Regions from separate parts of the Homo sapiens genome. Here region 1 is linked to region 2. The links are contacts of gene promoters, found by promoter capture Hi-C in human tissues and cell types (Jung and others, 2019). All regions are on one chromosome and are shown on one strand. The core of a region is centred on a gene start or on the middle of the fragment in contact, and the rest is flanking DNA. Distances in the headings are between cores, read along the strand shown.

Region 1 (4,217 bases), core at 1,522-4,021, 56 kb after region 2:
GGTCCACTCCAGACCCTGTTTGCCTGGGTGTCACCAGCGGAGGCTGCAGAACAGCAAATATTGCAGAATGGCAAATGTTGGTTCCTGATTGTTCCTCTGGAAGCTTTGTCTCAGAGGGGCACCTGGCTGTATGAGGTGTCAGTTGGCCCCTGCTGGGAGGTACCTCCCAGTTAGGCTGCTTGGGGGTCAAGGACCCACTTGAGGAGGCAGTCTGTCAGTTCTCAGATCTCAAACTCCGTGCTTGGAGAACCACTACTCTCTTCAAAGCTGTCAAACAGGGACGCTTAAGCCTGCAGAAGTTTCTGCTGCCTTTTGTTCAGCTATGCCCTGCCCACAGAGGTGGAGTCTACCGAGGCAGGCAGACCTCCTTTAGCTGTGGTGGGCTCCACCCAGTTCGCGCTTCCTGGCTGCTTTGTTTACCTACTCAAGCCTCAGAAATGGCGGGCACCCTGCCCCCAGCCTCACTGCCGCCGTGCAGTTTGATATCACACTGCTGTGCTAGCAGTGAGCGAGGCTCTGTGAGTGTGGGACTGTCCGAGCCAGGCACGGGATATGATCTCCTGGTGTGCTGTTTGCTAAGACCACTGAAAAAGCACAGTATTAGGGTGGGAGTGACCTGATTTTCCAGGTGCCGTCTGTCACGGCTTCCCTTGGCTATGAAAAGTATTCCCTGGCCCCTTGTGCTTCCTGGGTGAGGTGATGCTCACCCTGCTTCAGCTCATGCTCTGTGGGCTGCATCCACTGTATTGCTCCCACTGTCTGACAAGCCCCAGTGAGATGAACCCGGTACCTCAGTTGGAAATGCAGAAATCACCTGTCTTCTGCTTCGCTGGGAGCTGTAGACTGGAGCTGTTCCTATTCGGCCATCTTGGAACCTCTCCAAAAATATCAAACATATTTGAGACATCCAAAAAACTGATCATTTGTTTTTGCTAAAATCAAAATCTTAGCAAATTAGCTTTAATAGGGGCCTTATCTTTTGCACCTGCTCATCAGGTTGAACCCTGTGAGCCTTTCCCCTGTGTCATGTCTGGAACAAACACTCTCCATAAACCCACCCCATCCTATCACACATCCAACCTCCCAGCCACTGCTGATCCCCCAGGAGAGCTCACAACAGGCTGATTGTGAACAGGAATTTGGCTGGTTGATATCTTCATCTCCTCTATCGTTTTGGGGAGCTCGCCTCTCCCCAGCCTGAAGTAGAAGCAACATACTCCTGGGTCTCTAGAAGATCTCAAGTTGCTGGGGGAAGAGGACAGAAAGCAATTTGTTCTTTTTGCTGTATTTTATCCATTCATTTATGCTGTGAGTGCTGACTCTGTTCTGGGTGTGCAGGTGTCAGGGTGGCAGGGAGATGGAGTGGATGTGGACCATGCTTTGAGCAATGCTCTGGCCCCAGGAGAGAACTCCAATATAAGGCACTGGGTGGTGAGAGAGTAGAGTGGGACAGAGCCCGGAAGCCCCCAGGTCCCCAGGCAGTTCAGTGGTCACTTTCTCTGTGAAGCCTTCTCCAGGCAGAGCCATCATCCCCATGTCCCTGCATGTCTCAGTGACAGCCCTGGCCACACATATGCTATGTTTGCTGCCGCCCAGCCATGTCTTATATTGTGCCCCCAGCCTCCAGTGCAGAGAACTCCATAAACATTGGCCAAACTAGCAAGTGAGGCAGGTGTCTTCAAAAAGGTTCAGATAAAGTGTGTGGGAATTTGGAAGAGGAGAAATCACTTTTCAGGTGGGGGAACCAGGGGAAGCTTTGTAGGGGCATCCTTTCAATAGGCCATAGAGCACTTCCAGGAGCCACGGTGAGAGGGACAGGGCAGAGGGAGCCACGGGAATGTTCCAAGACAGCCAGCTGTTCTGTTTGGGGTCCTTCTGGGTGGTGCTGGCCAGCTGCATCTCTGGACTCGTGCAGCAGTTGGGGGAGCGGGACAGAGAGACAGAGAGAGAGTTCTGCAGCATTCACAAGAGGTTATTAGGACTCAGTTCTGCTGTGAGCCATCCACACTGGAGGATGAGAACACCCAGCTGCAGCCCAGAGCCTGTGGTCCCACTGTTAGGTTTTGAAGGGAAGGCAAGGGTTAAAAAAAGACACAGAGAGAGTTGGTGGCTCTATGGAAATGCAGGTTTTATGTCCAGCACAAGACCTGAGGAGGTGGGGGACAAGCTTAATGCCAGAGCCCCCTGCCGCTTACAGGCTGGGGTAATTTATAGGTCTAGGTGGGGGTCTGGGCAGTATGGCTAGCTCGCCGGGAGGATATTGATAAGATGTTCCTGTGATCAGGCGGTTTGGACCTTTTTCCAGCGGGATGTGATAGGCTGTTTCTTGGACCTTTGCCCCGCAGGATATGATGGGGATGTTCCTTCAGTTGCGCCTTTGCCCAGCAGGGTATGATAAGGATGCTCTTGTGCCTTGCGGTCAGGTGGTTAGGCAGGATGTTTCTCACGGCCTGAATCCACATGGAATGTTTCACTCTGACCAGGGTCCGCAAAATGGCAGGGGGCTTACAAAATGGTGCAGTTTGGACTAACACCCACCATCCTGTCGAATGGGTTTGCTGGGAGGATTTACTGTCAATTCTGTTAGCCTGATAAGGGAGGTTGCTTTCTCGGAGGCCGCATACACAGACAGTGCTAGGAAGTGACCCAAGCGTACCCTGAGAAATGTATCTGTTCAACCAAATTTCAAGTTGGCAATGATCATTCCTCATCTCGCCCAATTTTAAGACGAGGCTGGGCCGTGTAGGTAAAACTGGCAAGCTGGAGAAAGCAGTGCGGGGTGGGGGGGACTCCAGGAAGGCTCCTTGGCCAAGGAGGACTGTAGGATTCTGACTTACACTGTAAGGGCTGTTCCTGTTACAGTTGGCCCCAGTCAGAGGCCCAGGACAAAACTCTGGCCCTGAGTGCAGAGAATTGGTTTTCTGTTTCCCAAGCTTCCACACGGTGGCGCCACCGAGCACCCACCTCGCCCTGGTTGTCGCCGGAGGCAGTACCACGTGGCTGGGTCCTTCGTGGTTCCCGCCCTTCTGTAGGTTGTGAGTCCCACGTCGGGCACCAATCTTGCACCTGTTAAAAAAAGAGATCTTCACCAAAAGCTTCTGAAAGGCAGAGGGCTTTTCTTACTTAATTTGTATTCTTTTCTCTCTCCAATGCTTACCAGAGGACACTGCATAAAATAGTATATTGGGGACACAATTGTTAATCAAGTGGTAGAAACAGGAAGAGATAAAAATAATTAAATTTTTAGTAATGGTGGGTTAAGTAAATCTTGATGCCTATACACATGGAATCCCTGTGATGATACGAAATGGACATTTGGTCTTTGTCCCTGTTCCTGACACCGAGCGTCTGAAATCCTTGGAATCTCCTGAATGACAGGGGAGAGGGAGCATCTTTTGTTATTCATAACAATCCCCTTCCAGTCATGCTGAGTGTGTGCTAATGAGGTGACTCTTGGTGGACCCCTAGATAGCTTCAGGATGGGGCTGGTTGCCAGAGGAAGCAACCATGTGATTAGAGGGCTGGAGCTTTCAGCCCCACACTGGGCCTCCACAGAGCGGCTGGGGAAGGACTTCAATCACCAGTGGCCAATTATTTAATCAACTATGCCTAAATGAAGTGACTGCCATAGAAACCCCAAACGATGGGGTTCAGAGAACTGTAGGGCTGCTGAGCAGGTGGGGTGCCGGAAGGGTGGGCTCCTGGAGTGGGCCTGGGAGCTCCATGCTGCCCCTCATACATGGCCCTGTGTGTCTCTTCCACGTGGCTTTTCCTGAGTTGTACTCTTTGTAATAAACCAGTAATCATGAGTAAAGTGCCTCCCTGAGTCCTGTGAACTCTTGTAGCAGATTATCTAACCTGAGGAGGGGGTTTGTAGGAACCTCCAATTTTAGCCAGTCAGTCAGAAGTATGGGCGGTCAGGTGCTGCGATTGGCATCTGCAGTGGGGGCAGTGTTGTGGGGCTGAGCCTTCACCTTGTGGGGTCTGTGCTAACTCTTGGTAGTTAGGATCAGAACGGAATTGCACGATACCCCGATGGTGTTCAGAGTGTTGGAGAATTGGTTGGTGTGGGGATTTTAAAAAAAGGAAATATAACCCCCACACATTTGGCGTCAAAAGTGTTGTTAGTCAGAATGGTTCTGGAATTCCATATAATGTAGCTATTTGGAATCAATCACTCAAAAATATTTAAGAACTGGGGAGATGTTTTAAACATA
Region 2 (4,187 bases), core at 97-2,596:
CATTCTTTTTTTATAGCTGAGTAGCATTCCACTGTGTGTGTGTGTATGTATCTTTTGCTGTTAAAAGTAATATTGCCATCACATGGGGAACTGGGAGAGGGAGAAACAGGTCCCCCTGGTTACATAGGTACTGACGAGAAGGAAGTTGAAGAAAGATGATGGGTGGAGAAAATAGGTCCCACCTAGGGAGACATCACATCAGCTCTGTGGAGCCCCAGAGTGCTTAAAGGGCTGGCACTAAATGAACCTGGAACTCTCTTGCACCCTAAAAGGAACATTGCAAGGGGGTAGCAGAAAAAGTCCATTTCAGTGATTCATCATCTCCCTTTCCTCACCATGCCCCAGGGATTCCCATGCCTTCCCAACCCTCTTGCCCCTACCTGGGTCAGCCTTTCCACAGCAGGTTAGGGCACATTATAGCCAAGGGCACAACTCCCAACTCCTACACAGGCTGTTTTGCATAGGAGGAGGAAAAACACTGAAGACTTTCTGGGAAGTTAGTGCCATGGGGCAGGAAAGAACTTTTCCCACTCCCTGCCTCCAGGCTCATTCCATGGGGGGGTCACTCCACCACTCAACCTAGATAGTGAGGCCCCTGACCCCAGTCCCCCCACCTAATTCCAGGGCTTCTGTGAGGGGCTGACCAATGGTTAGCAATGAAGTAACCCTGCTTCCCTCCCTGGACTTTGAGTTCCCATAGGGCAGACCCTGATGTGACCCAAGACCTATAGCACAGGGGATAAGAGTAAGGATTTGATTCAGGCTTTTCTGAGTCCATATAATGATTTGTTGTGTTTACTAGCTGAGTAAACTTGGGAACATCTCAACTTCTCCTTTCCTAAAATAGAGATTGAAGCACCTCTTAGGACTATGAGGGTTGAGGAGGATGCAGGAGCAGCAGGTATCTTGATATCTAGACATTAAAATGCTCAGTCAGCGGTGGGGGTCATAGAACAGGCTGTCATAACAAATGTGTGGAAGGATAAGGGGAGGGAACAAACAAGACCATGCTGCCTTCAGGAGTCTGAAACTCCATCCTCTTTGGGTCCAGAGGCCCAGTGCTCTTTTCTCCCATTTTCTGACCTGCTACTACACATGTACCGCTGCCTTACCCTCAAATCAAGGTTGAGCCAGAGAAGACTCCAGGTGAGGTCTCTGGGGTGGGGTGGGACCTGGTGACCTGGGACACTGGCCAGAAATCCTGAGCACAGCCTCCTGGGTGTGTCCCACCCACCTGATGTGGGGCAAGCCTCCAAGAAACAGATGACAGAGGTGGCCCCAGGCCTCCCAGCCCCTGGGAAGAGCCAGGCTGAGCCTTATAAAGGACTGCTCTTTGTCCAAACACACACATCTCACTCATCCTTCTACTCGTGACGCTTCCCAGCTCTGGTAAGTCTCACCTGCCTCTTTGCGTTTTCTAGAAGTGCCCAGTGCCTGGCCTGCCATGCTGCCTGTAGGAAGGGAAAGGGCTGTGGACAAAGACTCAGAAGCCTGGGTCTAGGCCAGCTCTGCCATTAGCTGGGCTGTGTGACCTTCACTTGACCCCAAAAGCCCACGTCTGTATAACCAGGTGGCTGAACCAGACCTGTCCATTGCTCCTTTGGGATCTCCTGAGGCAACTCCTGTGGAAATGTCCCCAGTGGGACCTGAGCACAGGACCCTCCCTGTCCTCTTCCTCCCTGGATTCATCCTCCTGTTGGGGTCCCGGTTGCTAAATCCCCTCCCCAGCTCCAGCTCCACAGAGGGTGGAGGGCTAGGGGTCCCCTGTGAATGCTTTGGAGGCTCTCCAAACCCCCAGGCCTGGGACCCCGACACAGCATAGCCCTGGCCAGATGGCTTGCCCCTACCTGGGTAAGGTATTGAGAAACCAACGCTCCGTCACTCCCTACCACAACCTGCAAATTGTCAGTCACCCTCTGGGCACAGGGCTTGCCCTCTGGCCTTGGCCTCAGATTCAAAAAAGCTCTGGGTGGCTCCTCTTAGTCAGTTGCCGGCATGGAGCTTTCTCCTGCATTGAGAGGTGTTGGGGGTTTATTGTCAGACACCCATATGCATTAGCCAAGGTCCTTTCCTGGTTCTTTGGAAAGTGTGGGAAGTGAGAACTGCACTGTCCTATTTTTCAGGCTTGGGGTGCAGGCCAGCCCAGACTGACTACTGGCTGAAAGATCTGCTTTGGGAAGTCAGACATTTTTATTTAAACAGTCAAGGCTTGGTGATTCAGAGGGTGCAGATAATTCCCAAGAGCAGACATGAAGTGACTCCCACCTCACTCCCACCCCGTCCAGCAGCTTAAGAACCAGAGAGTTATTTCTGTTCCTTGTAACAGAGGCCATTCCTGTTTCTCGTTCCCAAGGGAATACAAGAAGGGCCCCCTGTGCTCGGGACAGGACTGTGTTTCCTGCTAACACTCACGTCCACGCTCACATGTGCACCTGGAGCCTGCACACACCGTGTCATGCAGGGCTTGCACTTGAGTCAAGGTGGGGCCCACGGTGTCTGGTTCCTGAAGCAGCCGAGGAGGGTCAGACACCAGATCACCAAGGCCATTGTCCTGCCCCCATGACTGTCACCCCGACTGTGAAGCTGGAGGAGATGGATTTGGTGCTCTTTTAAGAGTGGGGTCTGCCATGTGCTGGCTGAGGCTGGGGTGTCCCAGCTTAGTTCTTCCATGTGTTGCTGGCGCCCGACTCTCCCTGCTTCTCCCTCTCTGAAGCACTGTCCACAGCTGGACTTCCGCCATCCACCTGCATCTCCTCTTGGCCCTGGCCAGGATGGGCCAGGTCTCAGACTTGGTCCTACCCTCTCATTTTTGAGCAACTTATCCCATCACATTAAAAAAAAATTGAGTTCGTTCTGCTACACCTTATCCGTGTTTTTACTCTGTCCTCAGCCCTCCTTCCAGCACTCCCAAATAGAGACCCTAACTTAAATGAAGGGAAAAAAATGATTGTCTTTATTTCCTGAAGGCTTTTTGAAAGCAAAGATGAGCAACACTCAAGCTGAGAGGTCCATAATAGGCATGATCGACATGTTTCACAAATACACCAGACGTGATGACAAGATTGAGAAGCCAAGCCTGCTGACGATGATGAAGGAGAACTTCCCCAACTTCCTTAGTGCCTGTGTGAGTCGGTGTCTAGCTTCTCAATGTTGGAGGATACATTTTGCTATGTGGCCTTGGACAGATCACCCTCACCCTCTGATTAAAAAATTTCCCATTTGCAAATAGGGCTTTATTACTTGGATCATATGTGAATCTAAGGATGGTAGGCAAAAAAGTATGAAAATGGGAAAGAGTTATACAGATATAAAGGAGGTTATTAGATGGTCAGCAAAGTGTGCAGCTTGAGGGCAGTGCACAGTCCCCTCCCAGCACTCACTGACCCTCTCTCTGTGAGACTGAAACTCACATGCTCAGGTCCTGTTTCCCAAAGGCCCCACATCAACATCCCTGAGATTACTGGGAAAGCACTAGAAGTTCCATTGTTAGTAGAAATCAATAGCCCTCTTTGCAATAAACAAGACTCATTAGCAAATCTGAAAAAAAACTGTGGGCTACTAGGTACCAAAGGGTCTAGATGACCAAGAGTAGGATACCCAGAAGATGAGTTTGGTGGAAAAGGAGAAGAAAGGAGAGGAGGCCAGAGAAAGAAGAGAACAAAAGCATGAGGGCCAATTTTGAGGCCCTGGGGTAGAACTAAGGTAGGCAGTGCCCTTAGAGGCTGGGACGGGAAAGAGTGAGGCTGGGGCAGGGGACTGCTCTCCCCAAGGTCACTTAACAGAGCACCTTGGGACAGGACCTGCCTCCCATCCTGAGGTGTGAGACAAAAAGACTCCCTAGAGAACTCCAGGGATAACACTCACGTCCTCACCCCAACTTCACCCACTCACCCTGTGCTCTCAGCCCCGCCACCATGCCTGTGCAGATCTAGGTACTTGTCTGTATCTCTGCCTCCTCCTCTCCCTCCCAGCCCAAAACTTGTTTGTGATTGAATTTTTCTATTTTGTATGTTTTTCTCTTCACAGGACAAAAAGGGCACAAATTACCTCGCCGATGTCTTTGAGAAAAAGGACAAGAATGAGGATAAGAAGATTGATTTTTCTGAGTTTCTGTCCTTGCTGGGAGACATAGCCACAGACTACCACAAGCAGAGCCATGGAGCAGCGCCCTGTTCCGGGGGCAGCCA

Evidence for each region. Contacts are between HindIII fragments. The study calls those that stand out against the background at their distance.
Region 1: a contact is called between a fragment that was not itself captured here and the fragment with the promoter of S100A7 in region 2, in 20 of the 25 tissues and cell types used here (H1 embryonic stem cells, IMR-90 fibroblasts, adrenal gland and 17 more).

Annotation. Positions count from the first base shown.
Region 1 is chr1:153,403,655-153,407,871 of GRCh38, reverse strand. It overlaps a transcript of S100A8 not described here. Among named protein-coding and RNA genes, the nearest start is that of S100A7A, 11 kb to the left of the region's middle. The HindIII fragment of the contact is 3,683 bases long and covers 930-4,217 here.
Region 2 is chr1:153,457,810-153,461,996 of GRCh38, reverse strand. S100A7 (S100 calcium binding protein A7) reads left to right here and starts at 1,346. Exons shown (of 3, transcript NM_002963.4): 1 at 1,346-1,389; 2 at 2,967-3,124; 3 at 4,027-4,187. The coding sequence starts at 2,984. The HindIII fragment of the contact is 11,087 bases long and covers 1-4,187 here.